Linked DNA regions of Homo sapiens: all the other regions are linked to region 5. Evidence: promoter capture Hi-C in 16 types of primary human blood cells and fetal thymus (Javierre and others, 2016). All regions are on one chromosome and are shown on one strand. The core of a region is centred on a gene start or on the middle of the fragment in contact, and the rest is flanking DNA. Distances in the headings are between cores, read along the strand shown.

Region 1 (4,400 bases), core at 201-2,700, 340 kb after region 5:
CCTGTCTCTACTAAAAATACAAAAAATTAGCCGGGTGTGGTGGCAGGCACCTGTAGTCCCAGCTACTCGGGAGGCTGAGGCAGGAGAATGGCGTGAACCCAGGAGGTGGAGCTTGCAGTGAGCCGAGATCGCGCCACTGCACTCCAGCCTGGGCGACAGAGCAAGACTCTGTCTCCAAAAAAAAAAAAAAAAAAAAAAAAAAGATGTATTAAAATTATAATATTTGTTTCATTATCTGCTAATAATTTCAATAATGGCTCATTGCACAAAATATTTTCTAACTTACATGGAAGTACAAACTCCTATAATTTTAATTAATATATCTATTTTTGTTGCATAGAATTATGGTAGAATGAGGAATAAAAGACTTTTAGTTATAAAATATGAAATTAGGATGAAATGGAGAGAGTGCAGTAAAATGCAAGTTAAACAAGATACAGCTGGTGTAAAATTTCTGTTGTATTTAACAGAATTTATGTATTTTTTGAGTAGATAAAGGTGGATGTCAGCTTGCTATGATAGTTCAGTTTTTGGATACACTTAAAAGAGTGACATAATTTTATTTTAAAATGTAAATATTTACAGTAAATTAGAAACTACATCCTTTGCAAGTACTTAATGAAATTTTAAAAATGTGAATTAAAACTTTAGCTGTAAGAAGAAATATGCAAGAATATGTGTAACTTTCTAAAATGTTTTTGTAGGGTACAAGCATTCAAGTTTGAACACTACTGCCATAGATTTATTTGAAAAAGAAGCTAAGTTAGAGATGGCTATTGCAGAATGCAGAAGAGGTGTACATTTTTATCCTGATTTACACATGCATAGGCAAATGTGGTGGTTTAAGAAATGGTTTGGGCCGGGCGCGGTGGCTCACGCCTGTAATCCCATCACTTTGGGAGGCCGAGACGGGCAGATCACGAGGTCAGGAGATCGAGACCATCCTGGCTAACACGGTGAAACCCCGTCTCTACTAAAAATACAAAAATTAGCCGGGCATGGTGGCGCGCGCCTGTAGTCCCAGCTACACAGGAGGCTGAGGCAGGAGAATGGCGTGAACCCGGGAGGCGGAGCTTGCAGTGAGTCGAGATCGTGCCACTGCACTCCAGCCTGGGCGACAGAGCGAAACTCCGTCTCAAAAAAAAAAAAAAAAAAAAAGGTTTGATAATTAAAAGAGTTCTTTTTTTTTTTTTTTTTTTTTTTTGAGACAATCTTGTTCTGTCATCTAGGCTGGAGTACAGTGGCATGATCACGGCTCAGTGCAGCCATGACCTTCTGGTCTCAAGTGATCCTTCCACCTCAGTCTCTCTAGTAGTTGGGACACCATGATGTCTGGCTAATTTTTTATTTTTTGTAGAGATGGGGTCTCACTATGTTGCTCAGGCTGGTCTCAAACTCCTGGGCTCAAACAATCCTCCCGCCTTGGCCTCCCAAAGTGTTGGGATTACAGGGGTCAGCCAGTGTGCCTGGACAGTTAAAAGGGTCTTGAGCTTGAACATAGCAGTCATAGTTAAGTTTTTGGGCTCAGTTATACCAAAAATTGAAATCTTATTTTTCTTTTCTGGTATATAATGTAATCCTCCCATTTATAAAATAATAAAATTGTATTTATCACCTTACTACTATGTATAGGTAAAAATATTTATCTTGAACCATTAGAGGGCAGCACGGTTTTATCTTTGAAATTAGCTTTCACAACATGTAAATGCTTTTGAGTCACAGGCTTAATATAAGCATGATTAAAATAAACTATGAAATTTTAAGTTAAAATTAAAATATTTCATTTGGAATTTTTGTAATATAAAAAATGTGGTAGCAAGATAAAAGTAAGTCATCCTTTTATTTTTTCCCTCCCCTTCCCTCTTCCTAACCACATTAGAACTTTTACAAAGTTTGAAAAGCTATACAACTTGATTCTAAACTTAATATTTACCTTGATTTTCAGATGAAGAGTTACCTAAGTCAGTGTTATAAGATGTTCCATGGTAAAAGGGATTTGAAGACAAATTTTGGAAATGCTGCATACTGTATCTCTCTTGAAGACTCCTAAAGGTGTCATGAAGAAAACTGTTTACCTAAGTGGTTCCTAACACTGACTGAACATCAGGCTTTCCTGGGCAGCTTTAAAAATTCTGATGCCCAGACTTTATGTGGACTAATTAAATCAGAATTTCTGGTTGCAGAGCTTGAACCGCACTGTTTTTTAAAACTTCCCCAAGTAATTCTATGTCCAGTCATTTAAATACTGGTCCCCACAACCCAAAACACATTACCCTCTATTAACATCAAAGATTATGAGATGGTTTGAATAGTCATAGAACTTTTGAAAGAAGTAAAGAAGAAGGGAAGAATTACAGTTAACCACACTCCTTAAGGATAATTGTTCTGGACAGCTAGCTTCCCCACATTGCTGAGGGTTCACTTTTTTTTGGAACCTAAAACTTTACTTAGTTCAGTAATTTTGGATAGAAATATTTCTAAAAGTTATGGCATATATTTTTTATATCCTTAAATAGAAAATGCCACAATTCTTAGCATGAAGAATCCTTGCTGTTGACTCATTATCAACCTTATAAACAATAAGTATTACAAGCCTCATGAGATATGTACATGGTTTGTCCTTATACCAGATAATCCTAGACATCTGTTTCTAGAGTACCCAAGTGTGCTTTTAGTTACTTTCCAAATCATTGTTGTCAGTCAGATTGTCATCTTATTTCTTGTTTTTGTCAGTGCACCTTTGCATATTGCTTGCTCCTTTCTTTGATGCTTTTCAATTGCTATTATCTTGAAAACCGATATTATTGTTTGAATTTGGGGCAAAGTAAGAGTAGCAGGGCTTTAATTACGCCCTAAGATGTCCCCTTAACTGTGGAAAACATCGAGTTTTATCTAGTTGGTGAATTTTTTTACTTCAGAATTTATTTTTTTCTGTCATAAATTTTGCTAAGGATCTGCATTTTGAGTAGAATGAAGTGGCCAGATAGTTGAATAATGGTTTGGTGAATATCTATATGTATATATGTATGTGTATGTGTGTTACACATACATATTTAATGACATGAAGTACTTTGGTTGCTTGGAATTGGACAGAAATAACAGTTTTTTTTTTTTTTTGGGACAGAGTCTTGCTCTGTCACCTAGGCTGGAGTGCAATGGCGCGATCTCTGCTCACTGCAACTTCCACCTCCCAGGTTCAAGTGATTCTCCTGCCGCAGCCTCCCGAGTAGCTGGGATTGCAGGCGCCTGCCAGCATGCCCGCCAGCACGCCTGGCTAATTTTTTTTTTTGTATTTTTAGTAGAGATGGGGTTTCACTATGTTGGCCAGGCTGGTCTTGGAACTCCTGATCTCGTGATCTGTGTGCCTTGGCCTCCCAAAGTGCTGGGATTACAGGCGTGAGCCACCGCGCCTGGCCAGAAATAACAGTTTTAATAAATTTCATGAAATCACTTTCTTGTATGTTAAAGGAAACAGAAAGGGTTCATTTGTGCATGGTTTAGTCTTTCTTTTGAATGTGGAAGTTTTTCTTCTTATTTGTGTGTCTAAAAAAATTAAAAAGTGAAACATTTTCCAAAATGAGAAGATTTGCTAGTAAGTAATGCATACTTCTATGAAATTATCTGCCTGAGTTTGATAATTTTATTTATATAATTTCTTTTTTTTCCCCCTTCCAATCCTTCATGGTTTTCTTTTTTACACACAAAGCCTACAACCTTTACTTTTTCCAACTGGAAAACCAGTTTTTCCAACACTTTTTAAAAAACAAATTACCCTTTTATCATATGCTGAAAGCCCTCCCTATAACAAGCCCACTTCTGCGTTTGACTCTACACTGACCCTTCATTTACTTCCTAAACCAACCCTTTTGGTAACTTTTGGTGAAGAGGTGGCTTTAATAAATATATTCTCCAGAAATCTCCAGAACCTTTGCGTGGGTCAGGGTGAGAGGTGCCTCCACAATGTAAACAGAACAGCTGAGTTCTCTGGGTAGGTGCCAGGTGCAATCTGCACAGACCTGTATGGGAGGCCTGGAGTCAGAGGCATTTCCTCAAAATGCATCCCGTCTCCGGCAGAGCACACCAGGCCCCAGGGCCCCGTGGACAGGGCTGGTCCCAGCGTATGCATGCCACTTCCTGGGCTTTGGGGGGTGGTACGCCAGAGGCTGCCCACAGCAGCAGGCCCACTCAGAGGCCAGGGCCTCTTGTTCCACTTGCAGAGACCCCAGAAGGAGCCAGGGGACAGCATCAGAGTCTGGGGCCCAGGCAGGGGTGCCCAAGGGCACAGCAGGTGCAGGCCATTGGCAAGGCCAGAAGACGGTGAGTGGAAAGCCAGGGGTGCGTGCAGTGACTCCGAGAAGAGGCTGTTCAGCTGGGAGTCCTGCATTTGCCGTTCGTGTTTC
Region 2 (4,513 bases), core at 1,910-4,409, 280 kb after region 5:
GTCATTCACCAGTTTGCAAAGTTTTCCCATGTTGATTCATAAGCTCTGTACCTCTTTCTCTTTTCAAAGCTGCATGATTCATGTAGTTTAACCAATTTTTGGTAAATAATAATATTTATCTCATTTATAGTTTTTGCTATTATAGTCTTGTTTTCCAGATTATCATTGCAAATGTCTTCCTGTAGTATGAATCCTCAGATTAATAATTGCTGTTTTAAAGATAGGTACAATTGAAACTTTAATCAATGTTGCCCATCAGAAATTTTGTACTAATTTGTATTTGCACCAACAGAATTCTCACCCATTTTCCCCACATACTTGTTAATACTTAAATGATTATTAAAAAAAATCTTTATCAGTCTAATAGGGGAAAATTATATATCACTGGAATTTGAATTTTTCTTTCTTTCTTTCTTTTTTTTTTTTTTTGACAGTCTCACTCTGTTGCCCAGGCTAGAGTGTAGTGGTGCCATCTCGGTTCACTGCAACTTCCACCTCCCAGGTTCAAGCGATTCTGGTGCCTCAGCCTCCCGAATAGCTCGGACTACAGGCATGTGCCACCATGCCTGGCTGATTTTTGTATTTTTAATAGAGACAGGGTTTCACCATGTTGGCCAGGCTTTCACCATGTTGGCCAGGCTCTTTAACATTCTTTTGAACAGGTATATTTACTCAAGAAATTATGTGAATTGTGTGTAACTTTGCCCTTTTTTCCTATTGGCTTTAAAAAAATTGATTTATAGTATCTTTTTATTTTATGAATGTTAACAGTTTGTCTTCACTTTTTTTTTTTTTTTTGAGACGGAGTCTCGCTCTGTTGCTTAGGGTGGAGTGCAGTGGTGCGATCTTGGTTCCACTTGCAACCACCACCTCCCGGGTTCAAGTGATTCTCTCGCCTCAGCCTCCTGAGTAGCTGGGATTACAGGCACCCGCCATCATGCCTGGCTAATTTGTATATTTTTGTAGAGACGGGGTTTCACCATGTTGGCCAGGCTGGTCTGGAACTCCTGACCTCAGGTGATCTGCCCGCCTTGACCTCCCAAAGTGCTGGGATTCCAGACGTGAGCCACCACGCCTGGCCTTTCTTCACATATTGCAAGTATTTCTTCTGTATACAAAAAGTAACTCAAAATGGCTTAGACTTTAGTGTCATATGTGGTATGTTTTGCTTTAGAGAAGTTTTATTATTTTTATGTTGTTAACTATCAGTTTTTGCCTTTATGGCTTCTAGGTTCCTTTTCATATCTAGGAAGGCCTTCTGTGTTACAGGAGTATGACAGATATTTAGCTAATTTCCGTTAGTTTTTGTGAAATTTTTGTATTTTGCATTTTAATATTTCTGAAATTTATCTTTGTGTTTATGTGAGAGAGGAACTTAAATTTTTTCCTAATGGACAGACTGTTAAAAATGGAGCAGTTTGATGCCTGGGTAGTTTGTCGATAATTTTGCTTGGACAGCCTTATGTTAGGGTCTAATTTGAAAATAGAGGGTTTGTTTTAGTTAATAGCTGGGGACATATCTGTCAGATTGCTCCTAGAAGGCAAGAGCCCATGAAAGGGTCCTTTGCTCTTTTGACTTTTTTCTTTCTTATTTTACTTGGGAATTAGGATGAGTTCCCTCCAATAGCAGAGAATAGAGAAAGGGGAACCAGTAAAGAGACATAGAAACTGTGTTTAAGGCCGGGCGTGGTGGCTCACGCCTGTAATCCCACCACTTCGGGAGGCTGAGGTGGGCGGATCACCTGAGGTCGGGAGTTCGAGACCAGCGTGACCAATATGGAGAAACCCCGTCTCTACTAAAAAAACAAAATTAGCTGGGCGTGGTGGTGCATGCCTGTAATTCCAGCTACTCGGGAGGCTGAGGCAGGAGAATCACCTGAATCCAGGAGGTGGAGGTTGCAGTGAGCCGAGATCGCGCCCTTGCACTACAGCCTGGGCAACAAGAGTGAAACTCTGTCTCAAAAAAAAAAGGAAAGAAACCGTGTTTAAGTCATTTCTGGGACCAAGGATGGAAAGGATTCTTTGGAATGATTTGCCTTGCGAAGCGAGGTAGTCTGTGACCTTAGTAGCAACAGTTCTGGCTGGAATATAGCTACTTTAAAAAATGCTACTTTAAGTTCTGGTTTAGGAAACTTTTGGTGTTCTAGTGAATTCTGGTCACATAGTTTTATTCTGCTGTTTTTTCTCATGCGTTCTGTATTCTGCCAGTTTTCTGCTTGCATTTGCCAGAAAGTTATGTTGTTTTATGTGCTTTCTCCTGTGTCTATACTCCTTGAAAAGCTTGGACTGTCTCTCACGTTCCCTTGTTACCTAAGTGAATTTTTGCTTTCCTTATCTAATCACCACCTCTTAAAACTTGCCTTTCCATACACCCTTTGTCTAAGGAGTTTTTGTAACAGCCTTATTATAGTACTTATATTGTGATTTATTGTGTTTGTCTATTGTCTGTGTCTGTTTCTTCTATCAGACTGTGAACTCCTTTGGGGACAGATCATTTTGCCTGTGAGCTACATTATTTTGTAGCTTGTTCAGTGACTTGAACACAGTTGCTGTGTTTCTTCACTGGTTCCTACACATACAAATGAACAGGCAAAATGAAGATTCAAATTCCAGAGTCCAGGACATTTTGTGAAGACATAAAAATAGAGTGAATCTAAAAATAGAGTATATTTATGTTTTTGTTGGATATGCAAATACTGTTATTATAAATATGTATTTTACCAGTGTTTCTTATCAAAGTTGTAAGTTATATCTAACCAAGTTTCGTATCAGTGAAGGTAGAATATTTCCTAGCACATGTAAACCTTTAATATAATTTATATCATATTTGAGAATTTTTCAGTGGAAACGAACTTATGGGTTTATAAGTCAGTGGAAAAAATAATAACAAATACATGCTTTTCACAGACTACTACAGAAATATACTTGTTTTTTGTTTTGTTTTGTTTTGAGAGAGGATCTCACTCTGTCACCCAGGCTGGATTGCAGTCTGGAACTCCTGGGCTCAAGCAATCCTTCTATCTCAGCCTTCTGAGTGTCAAGGAGTACAGGCATGTGCCATGACATATGGCTAATATTTTTATTTTTTTGTAGAGATGAGGTCTCGCTATGTTGTCCAGGCTGTTCTCAAACCCCTGGCCTTAAGCGATCCTCCCGCCTCTGCCTCCCAATGTACTGGGATTACAGATGTGAGCCACTATGCCCAGCCAAGAAGTATATTTGTATGAGTAAAATCAATTTATCGTAACAGAATATTTTGGCTAAGAATATTTTTACTTAGTTTTATAAACTTTTTTCATGACTTTTTATGTCACTGTTTTAATATTTGATGATAGTGTAATTGTTTTAACAAATGTTTAAATCAGAATAATAATGAATTTTTAATCATTGTTAACAGTGTTTGGTATTATCTCATTCAATCCATGCAATTATCTAGTGAGATAAGAACAACTATTATCTCTATTTTACTTTGTGGGAAAGTGAGATTTAAGTACTTTCTCAAGGTCACACAGATATTAGTAAGTGACAGAGATATCCAAAACAGGCTCTTAACCATCATGTGGCAGTTGTTCTTTCAAAGTGGCAGAGTCTGAGATTGTGAATCCATTTTTATTAATTTTATTTACTTCTAAGTAGGTCTCTACTATTCCAGCCACCAAATGGACTTGAAGACTATTTCAAACTATCTTCAGTGATAACATCTATAGGTCTTTGAAAATGCATACCTGTGTAACATTATGTGCATTTCTCACTTTTTTGCACTATTGACTTCTCTAAAAAAGATTTATATAACTTTTTTATGTGTCTCAGATTTTATAGACCAGTTTGTTTTTATAGATGCTCTATCTAAATTTTGGTGTAATTTAAAAGTTATTGCTGTATTACTGAGCTCTCTGTCAAGTAAGAATCCTATTAAGATTTCTCATTAAATAAAGGAACAACTATTTGTTTTAATCCCTTTTTAAAATAAAACAACTATGACTAATTATTTCCTAAGTTATCAACTTTAAACATTTTGATTTTAATTTTGAAGCTTTATCAAAGTGGGATCTTGGACCCTTCTCACACTAAAACTTCAGTCACCCATTAAAATGTGTTATTGGATTCATGTTAACTTTTATGAAGCAGGAAGTCAGAATTAATGGAATATAAGTTTTATACCATGTTATTTGTTAACATTTTCCTTTAGAGGATTTAGATTAGGTTTTCATACCAAACGGGTTCATTATAAATGAACCATTTAAATCGCTGTTTAATATGTGTAGAACCTATGCTATTAGCAATTTTCATAGTATAAAATTTTCACACTATGTTTGTATGCTTCTAATATGTTTTGCATTGTAACAGATGAATATGCAGCATTACTGAATTATGAAAATTACACAGTGGTGGTATAAATGCTATTTGTGTTATGCAAAATTGGCTGATTTTTATCAGACTTTAATATTTTCTCATTTTAACCAATTATTCTGCTTTTGCTTTTTGATATTAAATTGGCTGTGCTGTCTGTTGC
Region 3 (4,318 bases), core at 1,223-3,722, 300 kb after region 5:
TGTTAAATAAGCCTTAGGAAGGCAAGGATAAACGAAACTAATGAGGTTTGAACCTGAACTATTGGGAGATAATGGATTAAACATTTTGGGGTATGAACTGATTTGGAGGGGGTAGAGTGGAGGAGGCAGTGTTTTGTTTGACCTTTTACCTCTTGAGTTTGTGGAAATACCAAGTAGACAGTTAGATTTATGTGATTGTTGTTTAGGAGAGGTCAGGTCTGGAGACATGCAGAGTAAATTTAATATGCTTTCCTGATGCAATCAGGAATCTCAAGGTCATTTATGTGGGTATTTCTGTTTTCAAGCATATGAGCTATATGCAAGATTATGTATATTATATATATCATGTGAAACCTTTGAACTTTCTTACTTTGTGGCAAAGTTCTTTGTTAAATACCAAAATTTGAAGAAAAAGAGCTAGTCATTGAAAAATCATTCTGAAACCAGAGAGAGTATTAAAGATACATTTTAGGTATATATTTTAAACTGAATTAGAATAAAAGAAAATTTAATCACTTTAAACAGGTATGTTTATGTTGTGAATTTCAAATGACAAATCCCAATTCTCTATTTTGATTAATTAAAAATCTACAGAAAAAATGGAAAGAGTGGTGTAATAGACACTCATGTATGGTTTAGATTCACCGATCGTTAATTTATTTGCCACATTACTTTATTTCTTGCTCCCTCTATATTGACATATAATTTTTCCTTGAACAATTTGAAAGTAAATTTCAGCTACCATGACACTTCACTCTTAAATACTTACATATCTATCTTGTAAGACTAAAGACGTTCTTCATAATCACAATACTGTTAATCACACAAGAAATTTAATCCTGGCTAAACCTATTACTTAATGTATAGTTCATAGTCACATTTCCCCAGTTGTCCTCTGAATGTCCTTTACAGCTTTTTTCCCCTTCCCATTTTAGATATAATGAAGGATCATGCATGGTATTTATCATGTCTTTTCATGTCTCTTTTCTTTTCCTTTTTTTTTTTTTTTTTTGAGACAGAGTCTCGCTCTGTCACCCAGGCTGGAGTGCAGTGGCGCAATCTCGGCTCACTGCAAGCTCCGCTTCCTGGGTTCATGCCATTCTCCTGCCTCAGCCTCCCGAGTAGCTGGGACTACAGGCACCCGCCACCACGTCTGGCTAAATTTTTTGTATTTTTAGTAGGGATGGGGATTCACTGTGTTAGCCAGGATGGTCTCAATCTCCTGACCTTGTGATCCGCCCATCTCAGCCTCCCAAAGTGCTGGGATTACAGGCGTGAGCCACTGTGCACGGCCTTCATGTCTCTTTAGTGTCCTCCCTGCATTCTTTGTTTTTTTTTTCCTTTTATGACATTGACATTTTTGGAGCCTAGGCCATTTGTTTTATAGAATGTCCCATAATCTAGATCTCTCTGGTTGTTTCCCTGTGATTAGATTCAGATTAAACATTTTTGGCCAAGAATTGTACATGGTTGTTGATATATACTTCTCACTGGATTGTATCAGGGGGCACATGACGTCAATTTGTATGATTATTGGTGATGCTAACTTAGTGAAGGTATTTTCTATCTGATCTCCTTTCTACAATAATATATATTTTTTTGTAATAAGTAATTTTAAGTTAATACTTAGTATTCCTAGAAAGTAATATGCAGTCTGGAGTGAAACCAATTATGCGCATATCATGTAACTTGATTCTGAATTTTAAAGGTGAAGAATAGGTTTGGGGGCTCATATGGAAATACAGTGAGAATGGAATTCAGAGCATGTTAGTGGAAGGATGTGTGTGAGATGAGGATGCACAGGTAGAGCCTTTGTGCCATGCTAAAACAGGAACAGTTGAAGGGTTTTAACCTGATGTTGATTGGGGTGATGAAGTTGGATTTGTGTTTTAGAAAGATAGTTTTAGCAGTGATCAGCTGGAAGAATATTATGTCCAAGCTAAAGATGATGAAAGGCTGGATCCAGTTGGCAGAGAGAGGAAGAAGATTTGAGAAATATTTATGATGTTAAAATGGACAGAATTTAGTGATTGGCTCAATGTTTGTTGTGGAGATTCAGAGTTTTTTGGTAGTATAATATTTAATAGAATTGCCTGACTCATTGCCTAGATTGTGCTAAATGTAACATTCAAGGAATTAGATTTTATGAAAGTATTATAGACACATGGTCTTTTGGCTTCTCTTACAGTTTCTCTTATTATTTCTACTTATTCTGCTTTTGTGAGGACCATTTGAATGACATTAACATTGTGATTCCATTTAGAGGAAAGATTGCTTCTTGATTTATTCTACCCAGAATGTACACCTAGATCTGCTACTAAGCTTTTGGATAGGATAGAACAGAATTTGGTACTCTCTTAAAATTTCTTCACTAGGTAGAGTAAGATTTTGTTGCAGATGATCTGTAGGTAAGGTCACCTCTAGCTCTAAAATTCTGATTCTATGATGTTTATTTTTCTCTCAGACAGCCAATTTTATTTCTTGGAAAAGTCTTAATGTTTTCTTTGTCTATTTATGTTTTTCTAAGATGTTCTCAGTGCAGCTGAGTCTTGGTGAGCAGACATGGGAATCCGAAGGCAGCAGTATAAAGAAGGCTCAGCAGGCTGTTGCCAATAAAGCTTTGACTGAATCTACGCTTCCCAAACCAGTTCAGAAGCCACCCAAAAGTAATGTTAACAATAACCCAGGTATGGCAGTGACTCCTTCTGTTATGTTGTCTGCTATGTGTGTTCTGCTTGTTGTATGTTTCATTTATAGTAGGCTAGTAACAGAGTGAGCAAGTATTAATAGTACACATATGCCCATACCTACACACACACACACACACACACACACACACACACACACACACGGTAGCATAAAAATAACTGAAGGAGGCTTGGTGCGTTGGCTCACGCCTGTAATCCCAGCACTTTGGGAGGCCGAGGCGGGTGGATCATGTTAGGTAATTAGTTCGAGACCATCCTGGCCAACATGGTGAAACCCTGTCTCTACTAAAAATATAAAAAATTAGCCAGGTGCCTATAATCCCAGCTACCCAGGAGGCTGAGGCGGGAGAATTGCTTGAATCTGGGAGATGGAGGTTGCAGTGAGCCAAGATCGCGCCATTGCACTCCAGCCTGGGCAACAAGAGCGAAACTCCATCTCAAAAAAAAAAAAAAAATGAAGGTGAGAGGATGAAGAAAGTAATTGTAATTGTTTTTAAAATTTGCTTTAGTGGATACTATAAAAGTGCATTGTTTACTTTTTTAATGTTGGCAAAAACATATTTGAATACAAAGCACAGAAAATTTGACTGAGTTTTTTTTTTTTAAAGTAAAGATAGTAGGCCGGGCGCGGTGGCTCACGCCTGTCATCCCAGCACTTTGGGAGGCCGAGGCAGGTGGATCACGAGGTCAGGAGATTGAGACCATCCTGGCTAACACAGTGAAACCCTGTCTCTACTAAAAAAATACAAAAAAATTAGCTGGACATGGTGGCGGGTGCCTGTAGTCCCAGCTACTCAGGAGGCCGAGGCAGGAGAATGGCGTGAACCCGGGAGGCAGAGGTTGCAGTGAGCCAAGATCGTGCCACTGCACTCCAGCCTGGGCGACAGAGCGAGACTCTGTCTCAAAAAACAAACAAACAAAAATGATAGTGGCTTGGTGCAGTGGCTCCCACCTGTAATCCTAGCACTTTGGGAGGCCTGGGTAAGAGGATTGCTTGAACCCAAGAATTTGAGAGCAGCCTGGGCAATATAGCAAGACCTTGTTTCTACCCCTGCAAAAAAAAAATTACAAAAAATGATTAATTTCTCTTTTTAAATATATAGTTTAAATATATAGTTATATATATAAAAAACTATATTTTATATATTATATAATTATATATATTTTATTTTATATATTATATATTTATATATTATAAATATATATTTATATTTAAATTAATTTAAATATAAATATATTATTTTTATAAATATAAATTATAAATTATATTTATATTATATAAATTATAAATATAAATTATATTTATAAATATAAATATAAATTATATTTATAAATATAAATATAAATTTTTATAAATGTAAATTAATAGAAATATAAATTAATTTATATTTAAATTAATTTATATTTAAGTTTATATTTAAATTAAAAAATTTATAATATATTGTATATATTATATAATTATACATAATTATATAAATATAATTTATATAAATTTATATAATATATAAAACTATATATTTATATATAGCCTGGCCAGCATGGTGAAACCCCGTCTCTACTAAAAATACAAAAATTGGCTGGGCATGGTGGCGCGTGCCTGTAGTCCCCAC
Region 4 (4,671 bases), core at 215-2,714, 340 kb before region 5:
TTGAATTTTGGTTTTAAATTGACAAGGAGAAGGATATTCTTTATAACTATGAAAGCACTTTGAGAGCTAATTCATGTGAAAAAAAATAAAGTCATGTTGGGATCACTAGTGTTAGACAACTTTGAACTTATTTGACTAGCTTAAAGAATCTAAGGTAGTCCACAGGAGAGGATTACCCTATAACAATGTTTCCCTGAAGAGCACTCAGTGTATTTCCTGAAAACACAGATTCCTGAACCTCAATGCCAAGCCCACGGAATCAGAATTCATCTGATTCCGTGGGCTTGGCATTGGTGACCTGGGCATGTGTATACAGACAGTCCCCTACTCAGGATTTTTTTGACTTTATGATGGTGTGAAAGCAATATGCATTCAATAGAAACCATACTTCAAGTACCAACACAGTCATTCTGGTTTTCACTTTCAATACAGTATTCAATAAATTACATGAGATATTCAATACTTTATTATAAAATAGGCTTTGTGTTAGATGATTTTGTCCAACTGTAAGCTAATGTAAGTGTTCTGAGACCTTTTAAGCAGGCAAGGCTCAGTTATGATATTCAGTAGGTTAGGTGTATTAAGTACACTTTTGCCTTACAATATTTTCAATTTATGATGGGTTTATCAGGACACAATCCCATAGTATGTCAAAGAGCATCTGTATTTAATAAGTTCCCCTCGGTGACTGTCAGCAGGGGAGTTTTGGAAATCGCCCTATGATAATGATTCTCCATCAGATAAGTACATTAGGATTGTTAGGAAAGCTCTCAGAATATATAAGATGGGGCCACTCTGTCATTTTGCTAGAGGAGAGCAGAACCTACACAAGCATCTTTTGAAAATGCTCACCAAAGGATTCTCACCTTTGCTTTGATGAAGTTATCAGTCCTAAAGGAACATTTAGTATGGATCTGAGGTGTGGAAACAAGGCATGATTTAGCATAGGCTGTTACATCGAAGGAAATGATGGTGCATACTTCTTTCTAGAAATAGCAAAACTTTCAGAACAACCAATATGGCAGGGCTGACACAGCTGGAGGTTTCTAAATGTCCACTTCTGTCACAGACAGGGAGACAGTCTATGAATTATTCAATCAGTTGGTGAGTCGGAAATCACTCATACCATCTGTATTACCCAGGCAGTCTTTTCCCATTTCAGATGGTAAGTTTTGGAGGGTCCTAAAATTTATCAAGTCCATTTATTGCTTTACACAGGCTATTGCATCATCTGCCTAACGGCGGTTCTATTCAGTTACATATACAGAATGGAATTTTCAAATAACTAAAATAATAAAATGCTAAGATGCTGAAGACTGACATTTCAATTTAATTATTAATAAGTACTATAATTTCAAGTTTCAAATTGCTCTTCAGCAAAGCTTTCCTACTCTCACCCCCTTGATTTTTATTTGTATCTTTACAGGTTTTTACATATGTACAAATACAGCAAACTATAGCATACTACATACATTGTTCAATATCTTGCTTTCTTTTCTATCTAATAGATCTTGGGGATTTTCCATATCAGTACATAGAAAGCTTCCCCATTCTTTTTTAAGAACCAGGAAATCTGATTTTAAACTCAGTTTAGTAAGTTGTGATTTAGACTTTCCATCTCTCTCTGACCAAGAACCACCTGTAAATGTAAGTGTGTATGTGTGCATGTGTGTGTTAGCTGTGTGTTCTTTAAAGACCACCGTGTGTAACAGTTCAAGGTCTCCAAGAAGCAGATTCCAGGATAGAATCAGACACACATGCAGGATAAAGACCACAGGAAGCAGGAGTAGGCGGGAAACCCATGAAAGGAAAGCAGGGAAGGAAGAATTGTGTAGAAAAGGCTCAGACTGCAGTGTAGCCCTTAAAAGGTTTTAGCCAGGTCAGTGGGGAGCACAGGAAATCTCACCCATCAGAGGAGGTCTGTGTTGAGAAGGAATGACCCAGTTCCTGGAATCCCACTGTGCTTGGTTATTGGCTAGAAACAGCTTAGACAGTGTGGCCTCAGCATGAATGCTATTGGAATTCAAAGGTGCAGCAGCTACAGGATGTTCACCAACCTCTTCTCTCACAGCAAGTTCTCCTGAAGGAAGATCTGAGTGGTGCACATCTATGACCACCACAATCTCCCCTTGCACTGCAGAGATTGTCTTCACATGTATCTGGGGGCAGTTCCTGGGGGCCTTTCTTCCTGAAGGGAAGCTCTGATAAGGGAAGTTAATGGGACAAATAGCAGTCCCTGTTTCTGAAGTTAGCCTTGTGGCTAAAAATGGTTCTCATCTTCTCCCTTTTCTTTACTTCATTCTCCTCACCATCAGCTATCACATAAGTAGGTTCTAGTGGCTTACCTAGTGGTATAACCTAATCCTTCATTTCTGGAAGGTCTGAACCCCTTGTAAGTCATACCTTTCTCAGACCAGGGTTGCCACATGACTGCATCCATGGATACAAGGGATCCATAGAGTCCCAGGAAGCACCTAAGTGGATCACCTGGGTCTGCACATATTCTTTTCTGTCCCCGTTATATAAAAGCCTCCTTCTGCTCATCAAAGTCAATCATTCCTGCCAATATGGTGATTCCTCTTCTTACCTGCTGATCCCTGGGCACAATCCCTGGATCTGCCAGGCAGGAGCCATAGTTTGCAGCTCTGCTTTGTCCCCTGGCAAGAGTGCTTCCCCTCTGGGAACCCTGCAAAGTCCAGAGATGCACCGATAGGAAAGACACTGGATGTGATAATAAGTGAGGTACTATTGCTTCTACCTCTTAGTTCCTAGGCTTCTATGTCCTCCCTATTAGAGATAGTGTCATAGAGAAATCCGATTCTGTGCATATATCACACCCCAAAAAATGCCACTCCATCTTTGCAGATTATTACCAGCAAACTAGAATTATAGCTGTACCTTTAGGAGACCATTCCATTATTCTATGAGGTTAGCCCCTGAAATATTACAGAGGTAAGCAGTAATACAGTGTCTAAGACGAAGCGGACCCCACAATCAGGGCTCGTTCTGGCACCTCCTTCACGGTGAAGTGGGTCCCCTGGTTGGAGTTTATGTGTGAAATCCCACGCTTGTGAATCAGGTATTCTATAAGCCACTGGACAGTGCTGGTACAGGCTGAGGCTCTGTGGGGAGGAAAGGTAAATCCATACCCAGAACGTCTATCCTTAGTAAGGATGAACCACTGGCTCTTCTAGGCTGAAATGAGTCTAATATACTCAACTTACCACCAAGTAGGTGATTGATATTTGCAAGGAATACTCTCTGTTACTAACAGATCTGACTTACAAAGTTAGGAGTAGTTAAACCAACCTCAATAAGCAGCAGTCCCTGCTCTTGGGCCCAGGTACAACCTCCATCTCTGCCACTGAGGCAACTAAGCTCATGTGCCCCTTGCTCCAGATCTGGGATGTCTGTTGAGGAAGGCTGACATTAACTGGCTGAGTCCTGTCATCTACTTGGGTTTTCAGTGCCTCTTCCACTTTGTGTCCATTCCCATATGTTCATCCACATGTCTCTAGCCTAGACCTCCATGTTTTCAGTCTTCCAATCCTTCTCTGTCCAGCCTCTGACCAGGCAACGCTGTTAGCCACTGCTCAGAAATCTATATAAATATTCCCACCTGGGGCCACTTTCCCTTCCACACAAAATACATGACTGGTTCAACATTCACAGTTCTGCCCACTGGAAAGATTTTCCCGGTCTACAGATGTTCAAGACCACTCCTGAGTGTAGATGTAATGCAGCCTCCATTCATTTTCAGCTACATCCACATACTGAGCTCATCCAACCGTAAACCAGATAAAGGTTTTTCCTCCCCCTTCAGCTAGTTATCTGAAACCCCAATCTGCTCAGAGAAGTGAACCAGTGGAACCCAGGTGGGGGACATGAGGGTCTGTCCCACACAGCCCTCAAGAAAAGGCAACCTGTTCTTGCAGCTTTTCATGCCCTCTGGTCCCCCTCAGCTTGCTCCTGGGGATCCCAGTCCCAACTCACAATAGATTGCTTCTGGGTCTGTCAAGACTTGAGTCAAGAGGACTCAAGCTCATAATGGGAAATTCTGAATGAACAGGCACTTTTTCCCATGGTCAAGCACTCCTTTACTACCAAGGCCAAGTAACTTTCAAGTAAACTGTTTCTCAAAAGATGTAAGATTGCCTGTTGCAGATGATATAGATCCTTGCTTTAGATCCCCATAGACTTGCAACTGTGATTCTTCCACAGGGGCTTGCCATAATCTTCATATATCTTTTCTCACCACTGATACCTCCAACACCATAGGATCTGCCTGATCATATGGCCCAAGAGGCAGGGCTGCTTGCATCACAACCTGAGCCTCTAGAAAAACCCCTTCCTGGTCTGAGCCCTCTCAAAGCTGGTGGCCTCCCTTCTGTGTCACCTAGCACATAAGCTGAAGTAGTGTCTAAGTGTGTATGTGTTGCTTCCAGAACCAAAGAGTAGGCCTACCAGGTGTTCTGCTTCCTTTTTGTAGCAGAGGATGCAAGATGCATCAATTTACCCTTAACTTGGAGGGGTTGTCAGGGGCAGTGGCCTTGATGCAAAACCCACAGGAGATGTGAAGTTGTGGCAGCTGGAGTCTCTTTGCCAAGTACCCTCCAAACTGTAGGTTCTCTTGAAGGCAGATCTGAGCAGTGAGCCTCCACAGCCACTCTT
Region 5 (4,342 bases), core at 361-2,860:
ACACCTGTAGTCCCAGCTACTCAGGAGGCTGAGGCATGGGAATCGTTTGAACTTGGGAGGCAGAGGTTGCAGTGAGCCGAAATCGCGCCACTGCACTCCAGCCTGGCAACAGAGCAAAACTCTGTCACACACACACACACACACACACACACACACACACACACAGTGGCATAATTAGCACATGGTACAAAAGAGCCAAAGGAGGAGAGGGAAGTGGGGGCCAAGTAGAGTAGGAGCCTTGCTGGAAGAGGGGAATGCAAAAGGATCTTGCAGCATGGAGAGATTTTAGACATACGTTTGGAGGGAATTCAGTGCAACCCACCAGGAGAAGGGCCATGGTGTGTGACTGGCCACACTCCTAAGTCTCCTCCTCACATGTGGCAATTATCCCAATTTCCCGAAAGTCACTTTATATTAGCATTTGGCAGAGCATGTTTCTCAAGAGAGTTAACATACACTCCAGACTAAAACACAAACAAACAAACAACAAATGAAATTGAAAATGTGGTTAAACAGGTGCCTTTATTGCAGAACTTCTCAGAACCCAAAGTACATCTGTAAATCTCTCCCAGATGATTAGGTCATAGATCCTATTTTCCCAAAAGAATCTCAAAGAACTGGTATTTTGGGAAGCACCACTTTAAACCTCCCAGCTATTGCTAGTGGGTGGAAAAGGGCAGCCAACCCATGGTAAGCAGCACGGTGGAAAGTACCGAACCAAAACAGCTGTCAGGCCTGACACTGTGCCTTCAGATCCCAGGACACTTGCTAATGAGCAGCTGGGGCAGGGGACAGTGACACAGCCAGTGAATAGTATTAGGGTATGGCTGACTCCAAAAAAAAATTAAGAGTATTATTGTCTCTATGTGACCCTATGCTAAAAAACTTCACCTCACAACACCCTTATCAAGTAGACTATAAAATCACTTTCACTTCAGTGCTAAAAAGGCTGGAGTACTTTGCTTAAGGTCACACAGCTAGTGACAGAACCAGGCTTTCATCCAGTGAGGGGGATGATTCCAAGAGCACTCAAGAGTCACAGCTTAGAGCAGAAATCAACTCCAGGAAGCAGCTGGGACTGCTCTACCATCTCAAGAAGAAGAACTAGTAAGTGTCAAGGCTGAGGTGAAAGCTCAGAAGCAGATGGTTTTATTAAAAATGGGCAGAACCAAAAACTGGGCTCAGGGTAGAGAAAGATGACGCAGGGAACAGAAGCACTTGGAGGTCAAGCACAACACAGTTTAGAGACTCACAAGCTCTGTGAGTGGTCGAGAACATTCTCATGGGGCAGCTGCCAGCTATTGCTTTTCCTGCTGGCAGCGTCCGCCACAGCAGCTGGAACACACTGATGTTTCGTGTGTTCCAGCCACAACAGTGTACGGTTCTCGTGAAAACTTACCCTCAAAATAGTTGATGCTACAATTATTTGTTTTGCGGTTTTACTTACCACAGTAGGTGTATGAAATACTTGCATCGGATGAGTTGCAGACCCAATACTGCTTCTGAGCTTCAGTAAATATGGAAGAAAACAGGGTGGAAAAAAACAGAAATGGTAACATGATTCAATATCTCCAAAGCTTTACAAATGCAAAGAGGATCAGTAACTAATCATCAGACTCTTCCTTTTCAGTAAGCAGAAAAGATTTAACTTAGTCATCAGTCACATGATTTCTGAGTTCCTATCCAACTGTTTCCTCTTTTTTTGTGTGTGTGTGCTCAACATTTGAGCACTTCCTGTAAAGGAAGAGAGAAAAATGATTTAGAATGTACTCTTCAAACACTTACTGTAAATGAGAGTGATCAAAGACTTAAAAATAAAACAAGACACTTTGGCCAGGCACGGTGGCTCATGCCTGTAATCTCAGTATTTTGGGAGGCTGAGGCAGGTGGATCACTTGAGGTCAGGAGTTCAAGACCAGCCTGGCTGACATGATGAAACACATCTCTACTAAAAATACAAAAATTAGCCAGGTGTGGTAGTGCATGCCTGTAATCCCAGCTATTCAGGAGGCTGAGGCAGGAGCTTCACTTTATCTGGGAGGCAGAGGTTGCAGTGAGCCAAGATGGCACCACTGCTCTCCAGCCTGGGCAACAGAGCAAGACTCCATTTCAAAAAAATTTTTTAAATGAAAAATAAAATAAAATAAACAAGACAATTCCCAGTCAACTGTAACAAAACCAGTCCCTAGGTCCCCCTGAAAGTCTCAACAGACAGGCACTCCTTTTCCCTCTGCATTATTCTTCTCTCCTACAGCTCTGTATAACAGCAGTCCCCAACATTTTTGGCCTCAGGGATCAGTTTCATGGAAGACAATTTTTCCACGGACTGAGGGGATGGGGAGGGATGGTTTCAGGGTGAAACTGTTCCACCTCAGAACATCAGGCATTAGATTCTTATAGGGAGCACGCAACCTAGATCCCTCGCTTGTATACTTCATAACAAGGTTCCTGCTCCCATGGGAATCTAATGCTGCTGCTGGTCTGACAGGAGCTGGAGCTCAGGTGGTAATGCTCGCTCACCTGCTGTTAACCTCCAGCTGTGCAGCCCACTTCCTAACAAGCCACAACCAGATTCCTAACAGGCCATGGACTGGTACTGGTCCACGGCCCCCAGAGGATGGGGCCTCCTGCTTTATAAAACAAATTCTCAGCTGGGCACGGTGGCTCATGCCTGTCATCCCAGCATTTTGGGATACCAAGGTGGGTGGATCACTTGAGGTCAGGAGTTCAAGACCAGCCTGGCCAACATGGTGAAATTCCGTCTCTACTAAAAATATAAAAATTAGCCAGGCATGGTGGCACACACCTGTAATCCCAGCTACTCGGGAGGCTGAGGCAGGAGAATCGCTTGAACCCAGGAGGCAGAGGTTGCAGTGAGCCAAGATTGGGCCACTACACTCCAGCCTGGGCAACAGAGTGAGACTCGGTCTCAAAAACAAACAAACAGGCCAGGCGCAGTGGCTCACCTCTGTAAATCCCAGCACTTTGGGAGGTCAAGGTGGGCGGATCACCTGAGGTCAGGAGTTTGAAACCAGCTTGACCGACATAGTGAAACCCTGTCTCTACTAAAAATACAAAAATTAGCTAGGCATGGTGGCAAGTGCCTGTAGTCCCAGCTACTCAGGAGGCTGAGGCAAGAGAATTGCTTGAACCGAGGAGGTGGAGTTTGCAGTGAGCCAAGATTATGTCACTGCACTCCAGCCTGGGAGACAGAGCGAGACTCCATCTCAAAAAACAACAATAACAACAACAAATCAAATTATCATGGCCCAGAGAGCTGCACCTATAGATCTGAAGTAAACAGTCTCATGGAAACTATTTCTTTTCAGCAGCAGGTTTAGTTACAGGACAGAACAGGGCCAGATAAGACCCCAAACAGGGGACACTAGCTGTAATTCTGTGCTGTGGGCAGGGACTCCACCAGTCTTAATAATGTATTCACCTACAACAAGCTAGAGCTCAAGAGAACATTTTGAGTCCTAATAATGAAATGTCATCCTTTTGTTATGACATGTATTTCATTTCAAAACTCTCACTCCATTTTAGAAAGACAGCTATTCCTTTAGATATCTTGCTACTTGAAATCCTTTACAGGATATAGCTTAGGGTTAGCAGCCAAAAATGGCATGGAGTTTTGGCCTAAAAATCTGCACACTTAAGAAGAAAATAATCATACGTTGGTAAAAATATTTTACAACAGAAGTGTGATTTTTTCCATTTTTTTAGAGATAAAGTCTCACTGTGTTGCCCATGCTGGGGTGCAATGGCTATTCTTAGGTGTGATTATAACACACTGCAGCCTCAAATTCCTGGGCTCAGCTGGGACCACAGGTTTGAGCCGTGGCTCTTGGCCCTGCCATTTTCAAAAAGGCAAAAGTCCAAGGGAGGAGGGGGAAATGGGGAGTTGTTCAATGGGCATAGAGTCTCAAGCTGACAAGATGAAAGAGTTCTAGAGATCTGTTGCACAACAAGGTGAATATAGTTAACACCACTGAACTCTATGCTTAAAACTGGGTAAGATGGTAAATTCTTTAAAAAACACAATTTTAAAATAAATTTAAAAGATGGAAAAAAAAAAGACAACCACCCATGAACACCCTTAGTGGTCTCAAAATACCATTTCCCACTATAAGCAACCAGGACTCCTTGGAGTCTGGGGTAGAAAATGTACAAAATGAGCCTAAAACACTTTGTTATATTAGATAACCAATTTGAAGACGGTTCCACTGAGCAAAGATAGGTGTTTCTAGTTTCCTATAATGGCTGTAACAAATTGCCAAAAGATTTTGTGGCTTAAAACAACATAGGCTGGGCACAGTGGCTCATGCCTGTAATCCCAGCA
Region 6 (4,350 bases), core at 774-3,273, 320 kb after region 5:
AGAGGTTTGTATGTCTTTTTTGGTTTTGTTCTTAATTATTATTTTATCCATGTTATAAAAGTTTCTCACACTCAAAAGAGTATTTTCATTGTAAATCTAATTGACCTTGGGCATTGTGCATGGAATTTAGATAAAGCAGGTTCACAAGGAATATTTAAATTAATAACTTAAAGAAACCCAGTTTTCAGGAACTAGTTTTTTTTTTTTTTCCCCTACCCCACAAACGTAAAAGATCTGAAGGAACTAGTTTTTATTGTGTCATGAGGGCCCTGTATTTGTTGCAGGGAAGACCAAGTCTTAAAGTCATTTCACAGTTTATAGTGTTGACTTTCTCATTCATTTACCAAGCAGAGCTCAGTTTTTTTCTTGATTTGTCTAAATACATTAGTGAACATGAATGTTTGTAATTTATAGGGAAAAAAGAAAAAATGTAAATAATGTAATCCCAGAATTTGCCACCTTTTATATTTTCATGTACTTTACATTCTTTTTTTCTTTGCATTTAAATATATTTAACCAAGTTGAAGTTGTCCTTTATATGCAGTTTTTGTAGTACTTTATGAAGGTATGATAGACATACAGTAAAATGTACAAATCTTAAGTATACCTCTTGATGACTTTATTTTATGTATGTATATATGTATTTATACTTTATTTGATGACTTTTTACATACGTATAGCCTCACGTGATCACCACTCAGATCGAGATACAGAATGTTCCCAATCACCTCTGAGAGTTTCCTCAGACCTCTTTGTCTTTGACACATCCTTCTCCCAGAAATAATCACTATTTTATTATCATAGACTAGTTTTTGCCTGTTGTTGAACTTTTTATATCTAGACTCATACAGTATTTATGTGCATCTGGCTTCTTTTACTTTGTATAATGATTTTCTTGTTTGGGGATTCATCCATGTTGCTTATATCTGGGTTTTGCCCTTTTTTATTGCTGGTTAGTGTACTTTGTATGGATATATCATAATTTGTGTATCTTGTATATGCAAAACAAGCACTCTCTTTTCACTTAATATAGTGGCCATTTGTCATATATTTAAGAATTTTTTTTTCTTTTCTTTCTTTTTTTTTGAGACGCAGTCTCACTCTGTCACCCAGGCTGGAGTACAGTGGTGTGATCTTGTCTCACTGCACCCACAGCCTCCCGGGTTCAAGTGATTCTTGTGTGTCAGCCTCCTGAGTAGCTGGGATTACAGGCACCTGCCACCATGCCTGGCTAATTTTTGTATTTTAGTAGAGATGGGGTTTCACTATGTTGGCCAGGCTGGGGGTCTTGAACTTCTGACCTTAAGTGATCTGTCCGCCTCGGCCTCCCAAAGTGCTGGGATTACAGGCGTTAGCCCCTGTGCCTGGCACAAAATGATTTTGATGGCTACATAATGCTTCATATGGCTTCATAAGGTATATAAATGTATGTCTATTTTTTTATCTAGGTTGTTTATGCCCTCTTTTTTGTTAAGATTGCTGCAGTAAATAATCACTATGTAAATCTTTGTTCACATCACTGATTATTTCCTTCCTTATATTACTATAAGGGGAATATTCTTTAAAAAGAATAAAGCATTGCCCAATTGCACTAAAGTTTGTACTAATTTCTTACAGTATATGAGAATGCTTATTCTATTCTGAGAACACTGAGTTAAAAAGGTTTTTGTCTTCTTTGGTAGTTAAAAAGTAGTGTTTTTTTTGTTTTTTTTTGTTTGTTTGTTTGTTTTTTAGATGAAGTCTCACTCTGTCACCCAGGTTGGAGTGCCATGGTGTGGTCTCAGCTCACTGCACCCTCCGCCTCCTGGGTTCAAGCGATTTCCGGCTAATTTTTGTATTTTTAGTAGAAACAGGGTTTTACCATGTTAGCAAGGCTGATCTCAAACTCCTGACCTCAAGTTATCCGCCTCTCTCAGCCTCTCAAAGTGTTAGGATTGCAGACATGAGCCACCTCACGTGGCCATCAAGTAGTAGTTTTTAAAATTCAATTTTATTGATTACTAGTGAGGCTGAACAGTTTTTTTTTTAGATATTTGTTATCCTTTTTGATTTGTCTATTTTAATTTGCTGATTTTTATTCCATTGCTTCACCAGTTTTCAAATGTTTATGTGTTGAGGATGTTAACCTTCAGTCTATTTTGTTTGTTGTAATTTTCCTGCTTTAAAAAATTTGGCTTTTAATTGTGTATTTGTTTTTAATATCCTGTAGTTTTAAAATTTTATGTGGTCTTATCTATTGATTTTTCTTTATTTCTCTCACTTCTTTTATGCCTGAGAAATTCTTTCCTATATTTGATCAGATATTTGCTGGTGCTTTTGTTATGGTTTTATGTATTTACTGATACCATAACTTAGATGTGTAGGGAAGATATTTATTTAGTCCATAAATAATCTGATACTTTTTGGTTTCTTGCTTGCTAGGGGAAAAATTATCTTTAATTGTATCCATTTAAAACTTAGTTCTATTCAATTGTAAATAGTTCCTTTAAATATTATTGTTTAGGTTCTCTAAGAAGAATTTGCACACTGTATTAGACTTCTGCCCTTCCCTTTTCCTCTCAGGTATGCCTGGGGGAGCTTTCTCTATGCTAGGAAGGGAGAGGCATCTATATACCTCACCTCTGTAGAGGCATCTTGTGTTGTCCTTTAGTTCCTCTTTTCTTTGTGGTCGTGTGCCTTGTCCACGAGGTGTGGAAACTTGCAGTTGGTGGCATCTAGTCCGTCTTTTTCTCCCTTAGGTAATGCTTCCAGAGTGTATCTACTATCTTCCCCTTGCTAATGGGCCTAAACCCTCAGCTTTTCTTGGCTTCCTTGGTATATTTCATTCTCTCCTGTAACATCTCTGCTTCTAATTGTGATGCATACAATGGCAGGCTTCCCAGCCCTCAGCTTGGTGTCCACACCGCATAGGAGGCACAAGGGACAACACATTTCTCTTGTAGTTGTTTTATTTTCTCTTTCTCTGTATAATATACGCATTGCCTTTATGTTTAATCTGACGTTCCCCAATGTAAATAAATAAAGCTAGTTGCCCACTTCAACACAGTAGATATCTTTAGTCACCTGAGTAAGGAACACCTAGCCTATTATATACTAATTTTATTGCTAATGTACTCTAGTAAATAGATTTATGAGAGTATTACATCTTTATATTTGTTTTATTTTGGTATCTGTGGTCCTTTATTGAAATTTTGCTACAGTTCTGACTAGTGAATTTATTACTTTTAAATGGAAATAAACTACTTTTATTACTTCTAAATTTATTACTTTTAAAAAGTCTGGTGCTAAAGCAATGAAAAGTCAGACACTAATCCCTGTCCTTATGGAGCTCATGTTCTTGTAGGGGAGGTAGTCAGTCAATAAGAAGTGGTTAGTCACTGAGAAGGTTGCTTTTGATAAAGACCTCAAAGGAAGAGAGAGAAAAAGCAGTGTGAATGTTGAGAGAGAGAGAGAGAGAGAGAGAGAGAGAGAGAATTCCAGGCTCAAGAAATAGCAAGTACTCCCCGCAGTAGAAGTGTGCCTGGCATTGGCCTCAAGAGGCCAATGTGGCTTGATCAGAGTGAACCAAGGGAGAGAGGAGTTAGTATGTGAAATTAGACAGGGATCATGTGATTTTGATTTTCTTTTTTTCTTTTCTAAATTTTCTGTTAAGAATGTCGGCATTTTTTCTTTGTTGGCAGTTTCTAGTTCCAAGATCTAATTCTTATGGTTGTTGTGAGGGGTACAATAATTTTATTTATGATTTCTCCAAAGTCATAAATAAAGGATGTGCCTTAGGCCATTCCATGAATAGATAATATGGACTTTTCCTTTTTTGGAGTGTCTTTATTTTATGATATTCTGCAGATCACAAAAAGGTAAAAAGAATATCGGAAAGTACTAGTAAGCTACCAAGCCATGTTTCAACTGAAAAGCTCTTTCTGCTCACAGAAGCGCAGACCTAACCATTACTCAGTAGGCTGTTACAACCATGATTTCTCATATTTATTTTAATTTATAGATGGCAACACTTGAATGGATTACAGGGACTCTGGAGCCAAAGATCCAAGGAGATGTCTTTTCCTTGTCAGAACCCAGATTAATCATTAGCTTCTTAAGGCAGGGAATGAAAGGTGAAGTCCAAGAAACAGGTATCATTTAGAGGGATTTTTGAAAAGGTCCTTTTATTTTCTACTTAAAGTAATATTAAGCAAAATTAGGTATTACCTATGCTGTTTTACCACCCTCTACTGATGATGTTTCTCCACTTGAACTTATTCAAAGGCCTAAGAAGAACTGAATTTTTCTTCTTTTTTAATGATGAGTGGAGAAAAAAACATTTATCCATGAGCAAACTCTGTAGATACAACT

What was found. The method cuts DNA at HindIII sites, captures the fragments that hold promoters and counts their contacts. A CHiCAGO score of 5 or more calls a contact.
Region 1: a fragment that was not itself captured here is called in contact with the fragment with the promoter of LY96 in region 5 in 1 of 17 cell types (activated CD4 T cells); the score reaches 5.9 in activated CD4 T cells.
Region 2: a fragment that was not itself captured here is called in contact with the fragment with the promoter of LY96 in region 5 in 7 of 17 cell types (activated CD4 T cells, non-activated CD4 T cells, endothelial precursors and 4 more); the score reaches 9.2 in activated CD4 T cells.
Region 3: a fragment that was not itself captured here is called in contact with the fragment with the promoter of LY96 in region 5 in 6 of 17 cell types (endothelial precursors, activated CD4 T cells, M0 macrophages and 3 more); the score reaches 6.3 in endothelial precursors.
Region 4: a fragment that was not itself captured here is called in contact with the fragment with the promoter of LY96 in region 5 in 2 of 17 cell types (fetal thymus and M1 macrophages); the score reaches 6.2 in fetal thymus.
Region 6: a contact is called between a fragment that was not itself captured here and the fragment with the promoter of LY96 in region 5, in 13 of 17 cell types (activated CD4 T cells, monocytes, M2 macrophages and 10 more). The highest score is 17.5, in activated CD4 T cells.

Annotation. Positions count from the first base shown.
Region 1 is chr8:73,651,442-73,655,841 of GRCh38, reverse strand. The region is part of intron 6 of STAU2 (staufen double-stranded RNA binding protein 2); the gene reads left to right. It also overlaps the pseudogene VENTXP6. Among named protein-coding and RNA genes, the nearest start is that of STAU2, 93 kb to the left of the region's middle. The HindIII fragment of the contact is 9,482 bases long and covers 1-4,400 here.
Region 2 is chr8:73,711,368-73,715,880 of GRCh38, reverse strand. The region is part of intron 3 of STAU2 (staufen double-stranded RNA binding protein 2); the gene reads left to right. Among named protein-coding and RNA genes, the nearest start is that of STAU2, 33 kb to the left of the region's middle. The HindIII fragment of the contact is 1,753 bases long and covers 2,283-4,035 here.
Region 3 is chr8:73,687,023-73,691,340 of GRCh38, reverse strand. It overlaps STAU2 (staufen double-stranded RNA binding protein 2), which reads left to right. Exons shown (of 15, transcript NM_001164380.2): 5 at 2,528-2,687. Among named protein-coding and RNA genes, the nearest start is that of STAU2, 58 kb to the left of the region's middle. The HindIII fragment of the contact is 296 bases long and covers 2,325-2,620 here.
Region 4 is chr8:74,328,348-74,333,018 of GRCh38, reverse strand. No RefSeq gene overlaps it. Among named protein-coding and RNA genes, the nearest start is that of JPH1, 9.1 kb to the right of the region's middle. The HindIII fragment of the contact is 160 bases long and covers 1,385-1,544 here.
Region 5 is chr8:73,988,660-73,993,001 of GRCh38, reverse strand. LY96 (lymphocyte antigen 96) reads right to left here and starts at 1,610. Exons shown (of 5, transcript NM_015364.5): 1 at 1,448-1,610. The coding sequence starts at 1,559. RefSeq lists enhancers at 829-898, 1,269-1,368. The HindIII fragment of the contact is 3,298 bases long and covers 1,580-4,342 here.
Region 6 is chr8:73,668,761-73,673,110 of GRCh38, reverse strand. It overlaps STAU2 (staufen double-stranded RNA binding protein 2), which reads left to right. Exons shown (of 15, transcript NM_001164380.2): 6 at 1-4. Among named protein-coding and RNA genes, the nearest start is that of STAU2, 76 kb to the left of the region's middle. RefSeq lists a silencer at 1,785-1,974. The HindIII fragment of the contact is 4,982 bases long and covers 1-4,350 here.